Linked DNA regions of Homo sapiens: region 2 is linked to region 1. The links are contacts of gene promoters, found by promoter capture Hi-C in human tissues and cell types (Jung and others, 2019). All regions are on one chromosome and are shown on one strand. The core of a region is centred on a gene start or on the middle of the fragment in contact, and the rest is flanking DNA. Distances in the headings are between cores, read along the strand shown. Region 1 holds the start of TSKS (testis specific serine kinase substrate). Region 2 overlaps ZNF473 (zinc finger protein 473).

Region 1 (4,612 bases), core at 1-2,500:
GCAGGGGGCCCAGCCAGTGTGAGTTGGCCGCTGAGGTCTTCCACTGTGGAGTCTGTCCCCGTGGAGTCAGTGGGCTCCATGGCGGCCAGGTTGAGCAGTGACACGTTGGTGCAGGCCGAGGACCGTTTGAGGTTCAGGCACCAGTGCATGGGCTGATGGGACATCTGGGGCTCCACCCTGCAGAGAAGAAACAGGCAGAAAAGTGGAGAAGCAGCCCCAGGGTGTCTGGGCCCTCCTGCCTTCCTTTCTCCATACCTCACCCCCTGTGACTCCACCCTCACTGTATATAAGTTTCTCCCTTCTCTGTCCCCGCTGCCTACTTTATTCTCCTTCCCTGTGCTGCCTACTTTCTTTCTTTTTTCTTTCTTTCTTTTTTTTTTTTTTTTGAGACAGAGTCTCACTCTGTTGCCCAGGCTGGAGTGCAGTGGCGCGATCTCAGCTCACTGCAACCTCCGACTGCGGGTCCCAGTTCAAGCAATTCTCCTGCCTCAGCCTCCTGAGTAGCTGGGGTTATAGGCATGTGCCATCACGCCCAGCTAATTTTAGTATTTTTAGTAGAGATGGCTTTTCACCATGTTGGCCAAGCTGGTTTTGAACTCCTGACCTCATGATCCACCTGCCTCGGCCTCCCAAAGTGCTGGGATTACAGGCGTGAGCCACCGTGCCCGACCACCACTGTCTACTTTCTTCTTCTCCTTCCCCGCTGCCTACTTTCTCCTCCCTTCTCTGCCACCTACTTTCTTCTTCATTCACTAGCCTCCCTTCTCCTTCTTCCCTCCCCACTGGCTTTTTCCTCTCTCCATCCATCCCCATTACCTTCTTCCTCCCTCCATCCATCCCCATTACCTTCTTCCTCTCTACCTCCCTGTGACTTGATGTCTCTTCACTGCTGCCCTCTTTCCTGCCCCCGACCTGCTGGCTTTTCCCCCTCCCCTTCCTCTAGCACCCACAGTCGGACTCCTGCTCTGTTGGAGGTAGTGCTGGGCATTAGAACCATCCCTGACAGTGTGCAACAAACCCACCCGTGGAACGACACGGCCTTCTTTTTCTTCGGGATCCCCTTGGCCCGGCTGGTCACCCTCCGGGGAGCCTCTGGGACTAGCTGGGAGCAGCTCTCCACCCCCGTGGGGGTGTCCCCGGCCTCATGGATCTCTTTGGACTGCCAGATCGTCTTCACCACCACGCTCGCCATGGTGTGGGGGTCTGGCTCCCAGGGAGGGGCTCCTTCCTCTGAGACTTCCTACCTACTGTGACCACAGACCCTCAGGATCCACTGTCCCCTCAGCCTGCCTCACAAAGGACCCAACCACTGGGCCCCAGTGAGTGGGGGGCACAGGGTAGGGAGAGATGCTGGCCCAGGTCATTCCCCTAGGGTTCTCAGTGGACTCCTCCTGTTCAGGATTCTAGTTACATGCCCAATGTGCCCCCCGTCTTCAGAGCTCCAGTGGATGGATTCATGCTAGCCTGTAACTTAACAATGGGTCGGCCCACGGATTCTTGGGAGAGGTCCAACTTCCCTCTCCCTGAGACTAAGCGTGGGGTCACACAGCCCTGTGCACTTGTTCTTGATTCTTCATGTAGCTTCCTGGATTTGACAATTGGCTGGGGTTTGAGAGACTGTGGTCGAAGAGGGCTGAGATCCAGACCCTGACCTGGAGGGTCTCATATTCTATGGGGCGTCGGGGTCGGGGGAAAGGCAATATACAGGTAGATCAACAAAAGAAAGCTAGGTGCGGTGGGCCTCGGGGTCAGGGTAGAAGGTGAGGGAGGAGAGGAAGGTAGAGAGTTGGGGCAGGACAGAGGGTGGTATCCCCCTCCCCCGTTTATTTATTTATTATTTTCTTTAATACTTTTTATTTTTTTTGAGACAGAGTCTCTCTCTGTCATGGAGGCTGGAGTTCAGTGGCGCGATCTCAGCTCATTGCAACCTCCACCTCCCGGGGTTCAACCGATTCTCCTGCCTCAGCCTCCCCAGTAGCTGGGACTACAGGCGCTGGCCACAATGTCCGGCTAATTTTTGTATTTTTAGTAGAGACGGGTTTCACCATGTTGGCCAAGTTGGTCTCAAACTCCCGACCTCAAATGGTCCACCCGCCTTAGCCTCCCAAAGTGTGGGATTACAGACATGAGCCACCATGCTCCGCTATAATTTTTTTTTTTTTTTTTTAGATGGAGTCTCGCTCTGACACCCAGGCTGGAGTGCAGTGGCGTGATCTTGGCTCATTGCAACCTCTACCTCCCAGTTTCAAGCGATTCTCCTGCCTCAGCCTCCTGAGTAGCTGGGACTACAGGTACCTGCCACCACACCCATCTAATTTTTTTTTTGTATTTTTAGTAGAGACAGGGTTTCACTGTGTTGGCTAGGCTAGTCTCCAACTCCTGACCTCGTGATCTGCCCACTTCAGCCTCCCAAAGCATTGGAATTACAGGTGTGAGCCACTGCGCCCCGCCCGCCCAAAGTATTTAAAAAATATATGGAACATGTCACAAATTTGCATGTGGTCTTTGCGCAGGGCCCATGCTAATCTTCTCTGTATCGTTCCAATGTTAATACATGTGCTGTCGAAGCGAGCACTGCCCTGCTATTTAGGGACAGACTTTTCCTGTTCTCTTCACACTTCTCAAAAAGACTAGTTCAAACATCACTGCTAATAGACATTTTAAATGCTGTTATCCCCAGGGAGAAAGTACTTCTTCCTGGTCATGAATGGACTCCAGTTCTTGGAACACTTAATCTTTCTATAATAAAGAACTCCTGGCTGGGCGCGGTGTCTCACACCTGTAATCCCAGCACTTTGGGAGGCCGAGGCGGGCGGATCACCTGAGGTTAGGAGTTCAAGACCAGCCTGGCCAACATAGTGAAACACTGTCTCTACAAAAATACAAAAATTAGGCGAGCATGATGACGGGTGCCTGTAATCCCAGCTACTTAGGAGGCTGAGGCAGGAAAATCGCTTTAACTCGGGAGGAAGAGGTTACAGTGAGCCGAGATTGAGTCACTGAACTCCAGCCTGGGGGACAGAGAGAGACTCTGTCTCAAAAAAAAGAAAAAAAAAAAAGGCCGGGCGCAGTGGCTCACGCCTGTAATTCCAGCACTTTGGGAGGCCGAGGTGGGCGGATCACAAGGTCAGGAGATCGAGACCATCCTGGCTAACACGGTGAAACCCCGTCTCTACTAAAAACACAAAAAATTAGCCAGGCATGGTGGCGTGCGCCTGTAGTCCCAGCTACTTGGGAGGCTGAGGCAGGAGAATGGCGTGAACCCGGGAGGCGGAGGTTGCAGTGAGCTGAGATCGCGCCACTGCACCCCAGCCTGGGCGACAGAGCGAGACTCCATCTCAAAAAAAAAAAAAAAGAACTTCAAGTCCTGGGATTAATAATTTTTCTTGTGTTTAATGGGGCTGCTTTATGTTCTTCAGGGGCAAACAGCACCCCCCTCCCATATTAGAAATGGACTCTCCCTGTGACTAAAACAGCTGAGCAATTTCTGTCCTCCTGGAATCCAAAATGGACTTTCCCAGGCCCCATTCCTGGAAACCCAAATGGACGCATCCATTGAGCCTGGAAGGTGGGCTCTTCTCAACCTCCTTTCCATCTCCCAGGATTCAGAATGGCCATTCCAAAGGTCCAGAACACACCCCCAAGGCTCATTCCAGGAATTCTTGGCTTCTGAGATTAGAAAAGGCTGATGGGGTGGAGTTTTGTTCCTACAGGTGACAGAAATGGACTCTTCCAGTTCCCTTTGTCCCAAATTTCTCAATCTCCTGGGGCGTTGGGAGTTCTGGCCGTTTTGCCTTCCCCAAAGCCAGTTTACCAAAGAGTCTCTGGGGAGCTGGGGGTTGGGGATGGAGGCTGGGGCTGGGCCAAAGCAGATTCACCTATTTCTTCTTTTAACAAATGTTGTTGAAACTGTTCAAGGCCAGGTCCCATTCTTGCCCAGAAGGAGTTCCCAGTCTGGAGGAGACAATCAATTTTGGTTTGATATCTGCTACAATGGAGGCTGCCCGAGAGACACTGCGGTTGGACAAAAAAAAAAAGGCAACATATATTGAAAAGTAAGCCAAGATACGGTTTACGTTTATTTCTGCTTTTTCACTTCCAAGCTGTGTGGCCCTGGGCAAGTCATTCGCCCTCTCGACCTAAGTTTTAACTTCTGCTTAATGGGACTAGCCTTGAATTACTGTTTTTCACTCTGAGATTCTAGGTCTCCTGACAACTCAAGTCCCGACACGTTGGCTGCAGAGAAGGGGGGAGGGGAGGAAGGCTTCCTAGAAGAGGATTTCAGCAGTCGGGGGTGACAGTGGAGGGAGAAAGGGAACACGGAGACGCTTGCGCAGTAAACACCGCACGCTCTCTTGCCTCGCCCAACCCCTTCTCTGCAGCAGGGAATTGCAGGCGTCGCTCCACCTATCCCAGCCGAGCGGAGTGACACCCTCCCCTCTTTCCTTCTCTACTGATCTTCGCCTTCCGCCCGCCCCACAGCCGCCCAATGGAGGGCTGAAGTAGGACAGATCTCGCCAATCCGCGACGCCTGCGGGGCAGGTCTACCCGTTCATTGGTCCCAGTCAACCTAAGTCCCGCCTCCTAGGACCGTTCCCCGCCTTCCTTCACG
Region 2 (4,612 bases), core at 850-3,349, 270 kb after region 1:
CCAGCCGCTTTTTAAACTTAAATTTAATTTTTTTGGCCGGGTGTGGTGGCTCATGCCTGTAATCCCAGCACTTTGGAAGGCCGAGGTGGGTGGATCACGAGGTCAGGAGATCGAGACCATCCTGGCTAACACGGTGAAACTCCGTCTCTACTAAAAATACAAAAAATTCTCCGGGCGTGGTGGCAGGCGCTTGTAGTCCCAGCTACTCAGGAGGCTGAGGCAGGAGAATGGCATGAGCCCGGGAGGCAGAGCTTGCAGCGAGCTGAGATCGCGCCACTGCACTCCAGCCTGGGCGACAGAACGAGACTCCGTCTCAAAAAAAAAAAAAAAAACAAATTTAATTTTTTTTTGGAGGCAGGATCTTTCTCTGTCATTCAGGCTGGAGTACAGTGACACAATCATAGCTCACTGCAGCCTTGAACTCCTGGGCTCAAGTGATCCTCCTACCTCAGCCTCCCAAGCGATCCTCCTACCTCAGTCTCCCAAGTAGTTGGGACTACAGGCACGTGCCACCACAACTTGCTCATTTTTAATTTTTTTTTTTTAGAAACAAGGTCTTGTTACGTTGCCCAGGCTGGTCTCGAACACCTTTCAGCCTCCCAAAGTGCTGGGATTATAAGCATCCCCCACTTGCCTAGCACTGGTGGGGGAGCTTTAAATGGGCACCAGTGAACTAACTTCGTGGGATGTAGACCCAATGTTGCCAAATCCTAGGATGTTTCAGAAGTTGGAAACATAATTTTTAGGTGAAATTTCCCAATTTTCAAGTTTGAGACTAGTGAGCCATGCTTGAATTTTCTTTCAAAACATTCTGTCTGCCAACAAACATTATGGGCCAAATATCTGTCAACTGAGTTATACTCGTAGGTTGAGGCTTAACCTCTGACATGTAGAAAAACTCATTGTTCAGTAGAATTAGCATTTATTGTAGGTCTACCATATTCCCATATTTGTAGTCTCAAAAATCTGGACAACTCAGAACAACAAATTTTTTTTCATAAATTTAGTGTCCGTGCCTTACCTGAACTACTACAGGGTATTTTTTAAATATAACTTTAAATTATTCTACCTAGAATGAACGATGATACTTTTCTCTAGGGTAAAGTGTTCAATTATGAAATGCAGCCTGATCCACACTGCGCTGGGACTTTGTTTTGTTTTGTTTTTGTTTTTGTTTTTGAGACGGAGTCTCGCTCTGTCGCCCAGGCTGGAGTGCATGGCGCCATCTCGGCTCACTGCAAGCTCCACCTCCCGGGTTCACACCATTCTCTCGCCTCAGCCTCCTGAGTAACTGGGACTACAGGCGCCCACCACCATGCCTGGCTAATTTTGTTATTGTATTTTTAGTAGAGACGGGGTTTCACCGCGTTAGCCAGGATGGTCTGGATCTCCTGACCTCGTGATCCGCCTGCCTTGGCCTCCCAAAGTGCTGGGATTACAGGCATGAGCCACTGCGGCCAGCCCTGCACTGGGATTTTAATGAAATATGCCATGTATATGCCATATCACCTTTTGAAAATAAAAGTTGAATTTCAAAGCACATCTGGCCTTGGAGTTTGAAGAATTTGTGGACCTGTGTCATTGTTAAGTGATCCGTGCTGCTTTGTGATATGAAATGCTTTCAGCACTCCGCAGATATGTGCTACTTGGTCCACGCAGTGGATACAAATGGGTAAAAATGTCTGTGGTACAGTTTTGCGTATTATGGGTCATGAAAATAACTAGGTGGGCAGTGACTATGATTTTTTAATGAAGTAGAATAAAAGAGACTAGAATAGAAAACATCCCAGTGCATCTTACATTGCAGGGTAAGTATTGCTTCATGAAGCTTTTGTTTAGTTACACTGTGTGTTTGAGTAGTCATGATACTTTTTTTTTTTCTTTTTTGAGATGGAGTCTCACTGTGTTGCCCAGGCTGGAGTGCGGTGGCACCATCTCGGTTCACTGCAGCCTCTGCCTCCCGGGTTCAAGTGATTCTTTGCCTCAGCCTTCCGAGTAGCTGGGATCACAGGCACGTCCCACCAAGCCCAGCTAATTTTTGTATTCTTAGTACAGACGGGGTTTCAGCATATTGGCCAGGCTGGTCTTGAACTCCTGACCTCAAGTAATCTGCCCACCTCGGCCTCCCAAAGTACTGAGATTACAGGCGTGAGCTACTGTGCCTGGCCTATTCTACATATTGGTGGTGTTACTGTGGGTCACGGTTAAAACAAAAGTTGAAATATTTCTGTTGTAGAGATAGTGGCCAGGTGCGGTGGCTCACAACTGTAATCCCAGCACTTTGGGTGGCCCACGAGGGCGGCTTACTTGAGGTCAGGAGTTTGAGAACAACTTGGGCAACAAGTGAGATCCTGTCCCTACAAAAAGTGAAAAAGATTAGCTGGATGTGGTGGCACATGCTTGTAGTCCCAGCTGCTTGAGAGGCTGAGGTTGGAGGATTGCTTAAGCCCAGGAAATTACAGCTGCAGTGGCCCATGATTGTGCCACTGTAGTACTCCAGCCTGGCAACAGAGCAAGACCGTGTCTCCAAAAAAGAGTAACAGTTTCGGAGGCCAATTTACCTGAACTCAAATTCCAGAGATGATAATCAGAAATCCCAGAAGCATTGTTCCATTGGTTCTTTAGACACCTTCGTTCTGTCAACAACTGTAGGTACTTTTACACCTACTGTTAAAGCACCTACTGCGTACTAGGCACCATGCTGGTGCTAAGACACAGCAGTGAGCAAGACAGAAGCTCCCACTGTGGCCATAGACTTTCATCACCAAATCTCCTAAACATGTGCTGACTGACTGTTAGGTGCTAACCCACCATTGTTGGTGGCGAAGCTGTTCTGTAGGTTCTGAAGCACAGTGCAAATGTGGGGCTGAGGTGGCTTCAGTAAATATAGTTGTTGTTGTCCCCTGCAGGGAGACTCACATTGGGACTTGTCCTCCTCCTCCTGGACATTTTGGGGGCTCGTCAGCATGGACAGCGAGTCAGCCATGGGTGGAAGGGAGGCTTTCTCACAGCTCCCTTGTGCTTCCCACAGCCCTGCCAGCCGGGAACACGGAGGGGAAGGAGGAGGAGCTTAAAAGAGGCTACTGAACCCCAGTTGGCCATGGCTGAGGTGAGTTGAAGGTCGCTCTGTCCTAATCGGTCACACCCAAAGGCAGAAAAATTGGCCTTCCTTTGTGGCCGAGGCGAGTTGAAGGTCGCTCTGTGTTGATTGGTCACCCCCATGGCAGGAAAGCTGGCCTTCCTTTGTTTTGGCCTCCCTGTCCCATGGTGGCTCCCAGGCGATCTTTTTTAAAGGAAAGCTCGCATGCTGTTCTTTCCTGTTTGTACTCTTCTGGGAACCCCTATTGCTTATAGAATAAATTCCAGGTTTTTCAGCCTTCCTGTGTGTTCTGGCTTCTACCCTCTTTGCACCATCTTCTGTCATTTCTCTAGATAACAAATACTCCCTTTGGCCTAGTAGTAAAAGTTGATTCTGTACTTTCCAGCAGCTTCCTTTGCTCAGGTTGGGCCCTCTGCTGGAATTCCCTGCCCCTTTTCCATGTGGTAGTGTCTCACACAGCCTTTAAGACCCGGCTCAGTTCCCCCACCCTTCCCTAGGCAGTCAGCACTTTCCTGCTCTAGCCTTCCATAGTACCCCCTGCTGCCTCCACTGTAGCACAGATCCACCTAGATATGGATGTTCCTGCCCATATCTGTCAGCCCCACCAGACTAGATGCTCCTTGGGGACAGGAACTGATGGGGATTCATCTCTGGGTCCCCAGGGCCCAGCACAGGCCAGGAACACAGGAAGCCTCATGAGGTGTTAGTTGAATGAATGAATGAATCAATGAATGATGCATGAAACCATCTCTCTATCTGGTAAATATCTGTTCATCCTTAGTGATCCAACTTGAATGACCTTCCCTCCAGGAAGCTTTCCCTGACCTCAAGGCAATGGCCTCCCTCTCCCCCTTGGCCCACACAGTCCCCGATACCTCCCTTTGCCACAGTCCTACCTCCCTCGTGTCTCTCCGTCAGACCATGAGCTCCATGAGGCCAGGAAACAGGTCTGACACACGTCCATGTCCCCAGTGCCCACAATGTGGTCTAGCACACAGGGTAAATGATTGCCAAATATGTGCTCTGACCTTGTCACTTTCCTGTGGCTCCCCAGTGCCTCAAGGATCTAGTCTGCCCCGTCTTCCCACCTCCTTCATCACTGTGACAGGGGCCTTGTCCAGCGCAGTCTGGGAGTGTGAGGAAAGGAAGCCCCTCAAAGGTCCTCTTTGATCTGGCTCCTGCTTGGCTGCTACTCTTGACAGGATATAGACAGCAACAGTTTCTGTTATAAGTACCAGAAATTGACTTACGCAGTCAGGAGACTATTAATTATATAACCAAAAGTCCAGAGGTAGGGCTGTCATGATCTGCAGGTGTGACTGGGACTCAGTTTATTGTCCCCATCTTGAACCTCACTTAGTATGGGTTCCATCCTTCATGAGCTCCTTCCCTTGTCCCAAAACAGCTATCAGGACCATGTGCTGCTTTGCCTCATTCAACAAGTATTTACTCTGTGCCTGTCATGAGTGGGCTTTGTTGTAAGTCTGGACTAGGGAAACGGTTTAGGTGGTT

Evidence for each region. Contacts are between HindIII fragments. The study calls those that stand out against the background at their distance.
Region 2: a fragment that was not itself captured here is called in contact with the fragment with the promoter of TSKS in region 1 in 1 of the 25 tissues and cell types used here (spleen).

The regions. Positions count from the first base shown.
Region 1 is chr19:49,762,056-49,766,667 of GRCh38, forward strand. TSKS (testis specific serine kinase substrate) reads right to left here and starts at 1,251. Exons shown (of 11, transcript NM_021733.2): 1 at 1,023-1,251; 2 at 1-177. The coding sequence starts at 1,192. It also overlaps the pseudogene RNU6-841P. RefSeq lists enhancers at 1-4, 3,611-4,588 and a silencer at 4,501-4,612. The HindIII fragment of the contact is 39,317 bases long and covers 1-4,612 here.
Region 2 is chr19:50,027,983-50,032,594 of GRCh38, forward strand. ZNF473 (zinc finger protein 473) reads left to right here. Exons shown (of 5, transcript NM_015428.4): 2 at 2,910-3,109. The coding sequence starts at 3,101. Among named protein-coding and RNA genes, the nearest start is that of ZNF473, 4.3 kb to the left of the region's middle. The HindIII fragment of the contact is 4,342 bases long and covers 1-4,270 here.